Regions from separate parts of the Homo sapiens genome. Here region 2 is linked to region 1. Evidence: promoter capture Hi-C in 16 types of primary human blood cells and fetal thymus (Javierre and others, 2016). All regions are on one chromosome and are shown on one strand. Each heading gives the region's core, a stretch centred on a gene start or on the middle of the fragment in contact. The rest is flanking DNA. Distances are from core to core; before and after follow the strand shown.

The links. Contacts are between HindIII fragments. The CHiCAGO score rates a contact against its expected background, and 5 or more counts as called.
Region 2: a contact is called between a fragment that was not itself captured here and the fragment with the promoter of SYNJ2 in region 1, in 4 of 17 cell types (endothelial precursors, activated CD4 T cells, fetal thymus and 1 more). The highest score is 6.7, in endothelial precursors.

The regions. Positions count from the first base shown.
Region 1 is chr6:157,978,372-157,983,606 of GRCh38, forward strand. SYNJ2 (synaptojanin 2) reads left to right here and starts at 3,492. Exons shown (of 27, transcript NM_003898.4): 1 at 3,492-3,717. The coding sequence starts at 3,591. RefSeq lists enhancers at 2,728-2,777, 2,742-3,257, 2,798-2,987, 3,008-3,057, 3,258-3,773 and a silencer at 3,178-3,757. The HindIII fragment of the contact is 11,440 bases long and covers 2,073-5,235 here.
Region 2 is chr6:157,754,347-157,759,202 of GRCh38, forward strand. No RefSeq gene overlaps it. Among named protein-coding and RNA genes, the nearest start is that of SNX9, 66 kb to the right of the region's middle. RefSeq lists a silencer at 971-1,265. The HindIII fragment of the contact is 2,142 bases long and covers 1,265-3,406 here.

The sequences.
Region 1 (5,235 bases), core at 2,242-4,741:
TACAGATTTGTATTTCCTTTAAACCTCTCCTGTCTTACTCGGCTCGGGCTCTGATAGGGGTTAGATGTCTGTCCACTCCAAATCTCCTGTTGAAATGTAATCCCCAGTGCTGGAGGTGGGGCCTGGTGGGAGGATTGCATCATGAGGGTGGACCTCTCATGAATGGTTTAGTACCATCTTCTTGATGATAAGTGAGTTCTTGCTCAGTTAGTTCACGGGAGATCTGAGTGTTTGAAAGAGTGCGGCACCTCCCCCCAGCTCTCCTGCTCTAATCTCACCACGTGACATGCTGGTTCCTGGTTGCCTTCCACCATGACTGTAAGCCTCCTGAGGCCTCCCCAGAAGCAGACGCCAGCACCATGCTTCCTGTACAGCCTGTGGAAGCGTGAGCCAATGACATCTATTTTCTTTATAAATACCCAGTCTCAGGTATTCCTTTATAGTAACACAAATAGACTAATAATACAGGCTTCCGCAATAAAATACCACAGGCCAGTGGCTTAAACAATAGAAATTTATTTCTCAGTTCTAGAAGCTAGAAATTCTGAGATCAAGGTGCCAGCTGATGTGGCTCTTGCTGAGGGCCGTCTTCCTGGCCGGCAGATGCTCAGGCCCTTCCCTCTGTGTCTCTTCTTTTTTTTTTTTTTTGTTTTTCCTTCTTTGAGACAGAGTCGTGCTCTATTGCCCAGGCTGGAGTACAGTGGCTCCATCTCTGCTCACTGCAACCTCTGCCTCCCGGGTTCAAGTGATTCTCCTGCCTCAGTCTCCCGAGTAGCTGGGATTACAGGCACACACCACCACATCCAGTGAATTTTTTTGTATTTTTAGTAGAGATGGGGTTTTGCCATGTTGGCCAGGGTGGTCTCAAACTCCTGATCTCAAGTGATTCACCCACCTTGGCTTCCCAAAGTGCTGGGATTACAGGCATGAGCCACCGCGCCTGGCCTGTCTCTTCTTCTAAGGACACTAATCCTATCATTCTTATTGAGAGGGCCCCACTGGCATGACGTCATCTGACCCTAACGAGCTCCTAAAGGTTCCATCTCTAAAAACCATTCCACTGGGGGTCAGGGCTTCAACATATGGATTTGGTAGGGCAACAGGGGGTGGGGATAGGGTGGCTCAAACGTTCAGTGCATGTCTCCCCTACTTCCCCTCTTTGTTTCCTCTGATAACCTGTTGGGGTTCCTGACTCCCTCACCCACACCACGCTGAGCTACATTTCCTGCTGTGGCTTACTCTGGGGCTGGTGGAGTTGGCTTTTGCTTCCTTCCCCATCTCCTCCCCTTCCCAATTCCCTACCCTCCAGGCATTATACATCTCAGAGAGGGGAAGCGCCCAACTCTCCTGCCGCAGATGGGCCCACCCCTTTGCCCAAACGCCGCTGGGGGTTTAGGTGTCTGAGCCAACCTTTTCCTTGAAGGCCTCAAGGTCAGTTGCTCCATCTGCGAAAGGTGCCTGTGCCTGGGTACCCTTGGTCTATCAAGCCAGTGCGCATGTGAGGAAGCTGCTCCCTCTGCCACCCAGGTGGGCTGTCCCACCTGAAACCAGACAGCAGAGGCCCCAAAACCCAGCAGGCTCTTGGCTCACCCAGCCATTTCTCAGAGACGGAGGAACAGCCACTGTAGTTCCTTGAGTCTGAGACGTGCATTTTAACATTGTCTAAATCAGGGCAGAGATGACTATTGGTGGCATGTTCTAGTTTAATTGGAAGTTTTTTTTTTTTTCTCAGTGGTACATAAAATAGTGGTTCATTTTACAGTTGATGGTGACTTGGATTCTATAAGCTGTGAGGCTCAACTGCTGGTCCTGACTGCAGGAAAATTTCTAAAATAGGTATGGCATGCCACTGTGCAGGACTTTAGACTATATGATGCTAGTTAGGAAAGAGGAGAGAGAGATAAATGGAAGACTGGGTCCCCTCCCTAAGGCCTTACCACTCAATTTGCAAAACAGGGCTAAGAGAAAACATAAAAACACTTCTCAAGCAACATATGAGTAGGTGAGAACTGAAGTCTGTAAATCTGGGTGTTATATAAGCACTATTATCTGGGACCTCAGCATTCCAGGAAAGCTTCCTGGAAGAAGTGAGTTTCAGGTCAAAAAGTGGGCCAAAGGCTGATCTGCCTCACTGAATGGGCACACTGTTTTCATGAGGTAGTAATGTTTCCATCTACACAGAAAGAAGCTGCTCGGACAGCTGATGAGCATCATGCCTGGGATATTGAGCACATCATGCTTGACCTGGGCAGAGTTTGTGGGCAAGGAAAGGGGCTAAGGGTCAAGATAATCTCTGCTGGGGTTGTTCAAATTTATTACCCAACCATCACCTGAGAGGTTGTCCCCTGAGGATGGCTTGTCTGGTCATTACTGAATGTCTGCAGGGGCATGGCAGTGTTCTGCTTGGCTCTGGGGGCTCTGCCCTTTCTAGGACAAGTCCCAGAGACAAACAGCTTGGCCCAGTACAGCAGAATGGGGTGAGAGAGGAACTGAGTTCGTTTGCGGGCAGGATGGAAACAGCTGATGGAGGCTTCTCGGGCCATCCTCACGTACCCATCACAAGCGAAGGGAATTAAGCCGCCAAACCACCCCAAAGAGTGACTCCAACTCAGCCCTAAACACCCATACCCACCCCACCTCCCCTGCAGCTCTGACAGGCCAAGCCTGGGCGCTAGAACCCCGCGCCAGAAGGCCGGGCCACACACTCCAGCGTACACGCGCGGACACGTGCCGGTGTCCAGAGCCGGTGGGAGAGGCGCTGTCACCATCTGACAGGAGAGGAAGGTGGAGCGCAGAGAAGTCAGGGTCACGTGGTAAGTGGGGGTCGTGGTCTGGGGATCACGGCTCCAGGTCTCTTCGCGACAACGCACCGTTGACCCCCAACACCTCTCCCTGGCGGGGTCGGTGACCGCAACAGCCTCCGGGATAGAACGCTAGTGAAAGGTAACCTTTCTCCAGCCCGCTCCACGCGCTCCGCACCCGCTAAGCGCCTCCGCGAATTAACTCAGGCCTCCGCGCCGAAGTAGGCGCAGTTATGACCCCGCTTCCCCGCAGGGAGACCGAGGCACGCAGGGTCGAAAGGACTCGTCCAGGGTCGCAGGAGCCGACCACACAGGGAGGCGCAGCGCCCCCGGCGGGAACAGTCAGCGGGTCCAGCCTGGCGGACTCCCGGGCCGGGCTGCCCATATAAGGCTGCGGGCGGCCGGCATCGCAGCCAGGCTCCCGGGGTCGCCCCGCGCGGGGCATCCTCCTCCGCAGCGAGGAATGCGTGGCATCCGGGAGGCTCTTCCGCTCCACGCCCGCCTGCGGGGAGCCTCAGCCCCGGGGCGCGGCCTCGCGCAGCTGCCTGGCCGCTGGGGGGAGCGCGGGGCCGGGCGGGAGGCGGCGGCGCGCCCTCACCTGCCCCAGGCTGGGGAGGCGCGAGTGGGGAGGAGGAGGAAGGGGAGGAGGCCGGGGAGGAGCCTGGCGCGGCGGGAGCGGCGGCGCAAAGTGAAACTCTGGCAAGTTGCGGGCGCGCGGGGAGCTGTCGCGGGCAGCGCGCCCTCGGGAGGACGTGGCCCCGGCCCCCGCCCGCAGTGGGCCCGACCCTCATGGCCCTGAGCAAAGGGCTGCGGCTGCTGGGGCGCCTGGGGGCCGAGGGGGACTGTAGCGTGCTGCTGGAGGCGCGCGGCCGCGACGACTGCCTGCTGTTCGAGGCCGGCACGGTGGCCACGCTGGGTGAGTCCGGGCCGGGGGCAGCGACGCCCGGAGGAGAGGGCGCCCGCATTCGCCCAGCCTCGGGAAGACGGGTACCCCCCCTTCCCGAGGGGATCGGGCGGCGCTGGGACTGCCGGGGCGTAGGGGTCGCGCGCAGAGGGGTGGCTGTTTGAATGAAGTGGGGCTGGGGACTCGAGAGAGCACTCTGGCTGGGCCGGTGGCGCACGGAGGCCGGCCGCCCCTCCACGGGGATCTCCGGCCCGCGCCGCCAGAGGATATGGTTGCTGGATAGCCGGCTGGGGCGCTTTGCGTATTCATGAGGATCCCGGGGTGTTGACTTAGCCGGCCTGACCCTGTGCCTGGCGCCTTTTCTTTTGCACCTGTTGATGAAACCAGTGATTGCCCTTTGGTTTGTGTTGGCGGCTCCACTCCTGGAGGGGATGGGGACAAAAGCCCCAAAACATAGGCTCTGGAGAAACCGCTGATGGCAGCTTTGTCCCACGTAAATACTTGGTCGAGAAGCATCGGTGCTGCAATTTATAGAACTTGTAAACAAATATACCATGACCTTTATGCTGTCTTAGATCCTGCCAAGCCAGCGAATTTCACCTATGGACTTCAGAAGCCTTGAAACTGGCATTGTGCTATGGGCTTTAGTACGTGATCTCACTTAATTCTCACAATTCTACTAAAAAGCTATTATTATCCCCATTTTGCAGATGAGCAAACTGAGGCCTAAAGAGGCTAAGTTGCTTGCCAAGGTGACACCATCCACCTGACTTTTATGTGGCTGTTTCTGTAATGTCATTCAATGCGTGGCTTCCTGGTATCGCTAACCTGGGTCCCTTGTTTTGTGCTAACCATTATAAGGAAAACCTGGGTAGCACCAAAGCACGTGAAACCAGGTCTGATTGTTAGACTTCTAAATGTGGACACCCGAGAGTAAGCTCCCACCACTAGGCGTCCAGCTGTAACAGCTTGCCGGTATTCCTAGCTAAACAAGGTGCAGCCCGGGGTCACTCGTACTTGAGGTGGTCGGCAAATGCAGCAGGCTGCTTTGTAGATGCCTCTAGCCTTCTTTTCACATTTGTATGCATCGACTCCCGTTCGGATGTATGTCTTGGAAGGACTATCTCTCCTATTTCTGATTCCCTAATCATTTCATTAACATGCATTTATCCAGCTTGTTCTCAGTCACTTGATTACTGAAACAATGTCTCCAGTAGTCTCAGCATCAAAAGTAGGCAGTGAATTGTAGATTAAGTTATTTTCAGATTATTCTAATTTGTGCTGTCCTGAAGAGTCTAAGTTTGGTTATTTGGTGTGGCCTTGAAAGAAAACCACAGAAATTTCCATTCCATTTTAGATGTCTACTTCATACCACATTTATCGGAAGCGAAAGAGTAATTTCATGGTACAAAACTACTGTTTCATCAAATAGATTAAGATGTCCTTCAGTTGGATTACGGCAACATTAAGCCAAGTTCATACACATTCAAGAATTCTTTGAAGCAGCTTAGAAAAAAGAGATTTTATTTT
Region 2 (4,856 bases), core at 1,086-3,585, 230 kb before region 1:
GGTGAGAAGCAAGATGCAGTCGGTTAAGTTAGATCTCTCTCACTGTCTCAGTCATAATTTTGCAAAGGCAGTTTCACTTCTAGGACAGAAAATGGGAAGCACAGATAGGATAGAAACCTGGACAAGAGGAGGATTCTACTGGAAGGAAGCAGTTGGGTGGCTGCATTTTTTGGATGCTTCCTGTTTTGAGACATAAAAGTGCTTTGTTGAAGGTGGGTCTGTCTGACGTGCGTCACACATTGTATGAACTGAGCAACATGCATGTTGTGAGCGTGGACATCAGCACGTCCTAAGTCTGCTCTGTGCCTCTGAGTTTCGAGAGCAAAATTTCTGAGTGAGGGCTCTCCCTCTCACCTGTGCAGCTATCACAACCTCAAAGCATCCAAGACTATGGTCGGAATAGCAGTGCAGGTGTTACAGGAAAGGGGTCCTGATCCAGATCCCAAGAGAGGGTTCTTGGATCTTGTGCAAGAAAGAATTCAGGGTGAGTCCATAGAATAAAGTGAAAGCAAGTGTATTAAGAAAGTAAAGGAATAAAGAATGGCTACTCCATAGACAGAGCAGCCCCGAGGGCTGCTGGTTGCCCATTTTTATGGTTGTTTCTTGATGATATGCTAAACAAGGGGTGAATCTCATGTCTCCCCTTTTTAGACCATGCAGGGTAACTTCCTGACATTGCCATGGCACTTGTAAACTGTCATGGTGCAGGTGGGAGTGTAGCAGTGAGGACGACCAGAGGTCACTCTCGTGGCCATCTTGGTCTTGGTGAGATAGGGCCGGCTTCTTTACTGCAACCTGCTTTATCAGCAAGGTCTTTATGACCTGCATCTTGTGCTGACCTCTTATCTCATCTTGTGACTTAGAATGCCTTAACAGTCTGGGAATGCAGCCCAGTAGGTCTCCGCCTCATTTTACCCAGCTCTGTATTCAAGATGGAGTTGCTCTGGTTCGCATGCCTCTGACACCGGGAGAAATTCTCCCTCTCAGCCATCTCTTTCCTAGTGGCCTCTCTCAGCATCATATGTTAGTCACTCCTCCCTTCCTGGTAGGGAAGAGAATGCCTCCGGGTTAGAAAAACACCAGCTGAGAGTTTATAGACATTTCTCTTTGAACATGTGGAACAACAAAGACTACTGATAGACTGTTGGGCATAATTTTAGAATTTGCCTTATTTTGTCAAAGATTAAAGAAAGAAAAGGCCACTTTCCCACTATTCGATTTAACTCAGTCGGATTATACGGTGACAATGTCACTCACTGATTTAAGCTTGAATGTGAGAGATTTAAAAGCAATGGCTTGAAAGGAGTTGTTTTGCATCTTAAAAGAAACCACGACTTCAGAGTGATTTTGATTTTCCATTCCTACAAAGGAAGAAACGAAGCTAAATGCTTTTAATCCTAAAAGTGCCCTTTCAGAATTTCTGGGATCACGGTTGCAAGGCAGAAGTGGAGAACTACCCATTGGATGCCTCTCCAGGAGTCACATCTGTCTCCTCAGACTTTGATCTTCTCAGACATTGCTGGAGAGGCAGGGACAGAAAGTTCAGATGCTACGGAAAGACAGTGTGGGTCAGACCACACAGTGTTCCTTTGAAACTCCTGGCTTACTGGCTTTCCCCCACCCACCCATCAAGTGTGTCCTTTGAGGTGAGACATAACATCAGCTGACTAACAAGATGTTTGCCAGTAATCACATCTGATGACAGTAAATGTCAGTCTCCCAACACAATTTCTATTTTATTTCATTAATACCATCCTCAGTGGTTTGCTTGAAAGGGTTAAATTAGCTAGGCATGGTGGCTCATGCCTGTAATCCCTACACTTTGGGAGGCTGAGGTAAGCAGATCACTTGAGGTCAGGAGTTCAAGACCAGCCTGGGCAACATGGTGAAACCCTGTCTCTACAAAAAATACAAAAATTGGCTGGGCGTGGTGGCAAGTGCCTGTAGACCCAAGTACTTGGGGGGCTGAGGCAGGAGGATTGCTTGAACCCAGGAGGTGGAGGTTGCAGTGAGCTGTGATTGTTCCTCTGCACTCTGCACTCTAGCTGGGCAACAGAGTGAGACTCTGTCTAAAAAAAAAAAAAGAGTTAAATTGGAAAATGTATGTCTTGGTGCTCTGTAAATTGCGAAGCTCTACATAAGTATGATTCCCTGTCTTTATAAATTTGCAATCTGGTGTGCCATGTCTGGGGACAATAACTCCTTCATTGCTCCAGGCACAGAGTTCTGGATTGAGGTCCTGGCTTCTGCTTCTCCAAGATTATCCAAATTTCTTGCTCCTTGAAGGTGGACTTTGAGGACCAGCATCACTTGTGTACCCCATAGCTTCTAATGCAGCAAGCAGGGAATAGACACTCCAGCAAGCAAGTGAATAAGCAAAGAAAACCAGGCCCCCGAGACGCAGGCGGATCCCCAGGCGGATCCCCAGAGGCAACAGAGTCAAATATGCGGGAAAGAATCTGATTCCGGCCAGCAGAGGGCAGGAGCGAGAGGAAACTGGGCATCTCAGCAACAAAGCAGGCTGTGCCAACCTGCGGCCGAGGGCCAGATCGCAAGCCCCGGTGCAGAGAGGACGCCGGGAGAATCCAGCTAATTCTGACAGCCTTTCCCTTGGACTTTAGCTGTAATGTGTGTGTGTTCCATTATCTCACACATCACTGCACTGAATTCCACTTCAACTTCCACCCCCTCCCCCCACCAGGAGCTGGCAGTTAAGATATTTACCAAGATGGTGCTGCCTCTCTAGTAAAACTCAGGAGGATTAAAATAATAATAAACAAACCGAGAGAGGGAGTCCAGAAAAGTGGACTAGGAAGCACAACACAGAAGCAGCTTCAGCACTGGAAAATATTCAGTCGTAAGAATCACCATGCATTCCCTCAGTGCTTGGCAGCCACTTTCTCACTTGAGCCCCATACTCTTTGTATGAGGTATGGGGTGGCTACTTGTGGAGTGCTGTGTCTAAGTCACCCTGCATGGGAGAGGCAGCACCAGGATTCTAACTCAGGATCCTGGGGCCTTATCCACGGCACTCTGTTACCGGGGACACGCTCATTCACTCAACAAACCTTCACGGACTGCCCATCAGTTCTTGTGCCAGGTATACAGAAGGGAAGGACACGGTCCTGTCCTCCAAGAGCTCATCCTCCAAAAGAGCATGGATACTAATAAACAGTCACAGTTTGGTATGACATGGCCATGACAGAGAAGAGTCACCCAACGCAAACTGGGAGGGCCAGTGAACATTTCCAGGAGGAAGTGACAGAAGTTGCCCTGCTGATGACCTCAGTGGCACCATTCATTTTATCACTATGTACCAGAAAATTGTCATAATCTACAGTGACCTCAGATGTGCACAGGGCACCCTCCACCTCTTTGCAATGCCCCTTGCACAGCCATACTGGGAAGCTTGCAGCTGAACCAAGCTTTGAAGGATGACTAGGAGCAGGCAATCAAAGAAAGGAATAGGGGCTAGGGCTGGCGTCGGGTGGAGGGATTCTGGGTGAAGGGGTTGGCACCAGCATAGGGGGTAGGCCTGAGAAATGTCCCCACAGCTGGAGCGTAGGTCTCAGGAGGAATGGTAACAAGAAGACTAAGAAGCAGATGGGGAGGCCAGGAGTTTGAGGAGCTTGGGCAACATAGCAGGACCTCGTCTCCACAAAAAGAAATTAAAAATTAGCCGGCCATGGTGGTGCATGCCTGTAGTCCCACTTACTCAGGAGGCTGAGGCAGGAGGATCACTTGAGCCCAGGAGTTCAAAGTTACAGTGAGGTGTGATCTCACTGCTGCACTCCAGCCTCCAAGGTCTTCAGAGCAAGACCCTATCAAAAAAGAAAAGAAAAGAAAGAAGAAAGGAAGGAAGGAAAGAAGGAAAGAGAAAGAGAGAAAGAAAGAAAGAAAAAAGAGAGGAAGGAAGGAAAAAGAAAAGAAAGAAAAAAGAAGCAGATGAGGCCAGGTCACCTAAAAGGCCTTTTCTACCATGCCAAGGAGGCTAGATGTTACATGGAATGCTATGAGGGTCTTTGGGAGAATATTATACAGGGAAATGGCAATATCATAAATGTGATTTCAGAAATATCATTACTCTAGCAGCATGGAGAATGGATTCGAGAGCGGCAAGTCTGGGGATAGGAGAGCAGTGAGGAGCTTCCCGATGATCCCAGAGCAAAATGACAAGGGCCTGGGGAAAAGACACTCTTGGTGGGGGCAGAGGAAGGGGAGGCTTCCGGAGTTGGGCAGGAAGAAGAACAGATCAAATCTACCAACTAAACAATGGTAAGTGGGAGAGGTCAGGGGTAAGGATGACTGAAGGCTCTGGCTGGGGTCACTGGGCACATGGTGACACCATGTCCCCTGGATAAGCCCCATGAGGGTGGGACTGTGGCTGAGTCACAGCTGTATGGTCAGCACGTGTAGTGACTAGCAGGTAATGGGTGTCTGAGAAGTATTTATGGGGTGAACGCTAGCATGGATGCCTGCGTGAGCAAGACAGGTAGGGATGATGGAACCTGTTGAGTAGGAGACGCCTGAGAGATGGTCACAGGAAGCTGTGCAGCAGGAAGTTGCACAGATGAGACCTGAGTTCAACAGGGAGACCTGAACTGAAGGCAGGGATCTGGGAAGCAGCGGCATTCACGTTCCCAGTGAGGACAGTGGAAGAAGACCTCAGGTCCTGAAAAACACCAACAGCTGAAGGGCCAGCAGAGGAACCTGTGCCCTCAGAGAAGGTTTAAAATCATAGCAAGGAACAATGATGGTGTTGAGAGTTTCAAAAGACAGGAGTCTCTGGGAGGCCAAGTAGAATAAGGAGTGAAATTTACCTATTGAATTTGGCAACCTGGACGTCAGAAGTCACA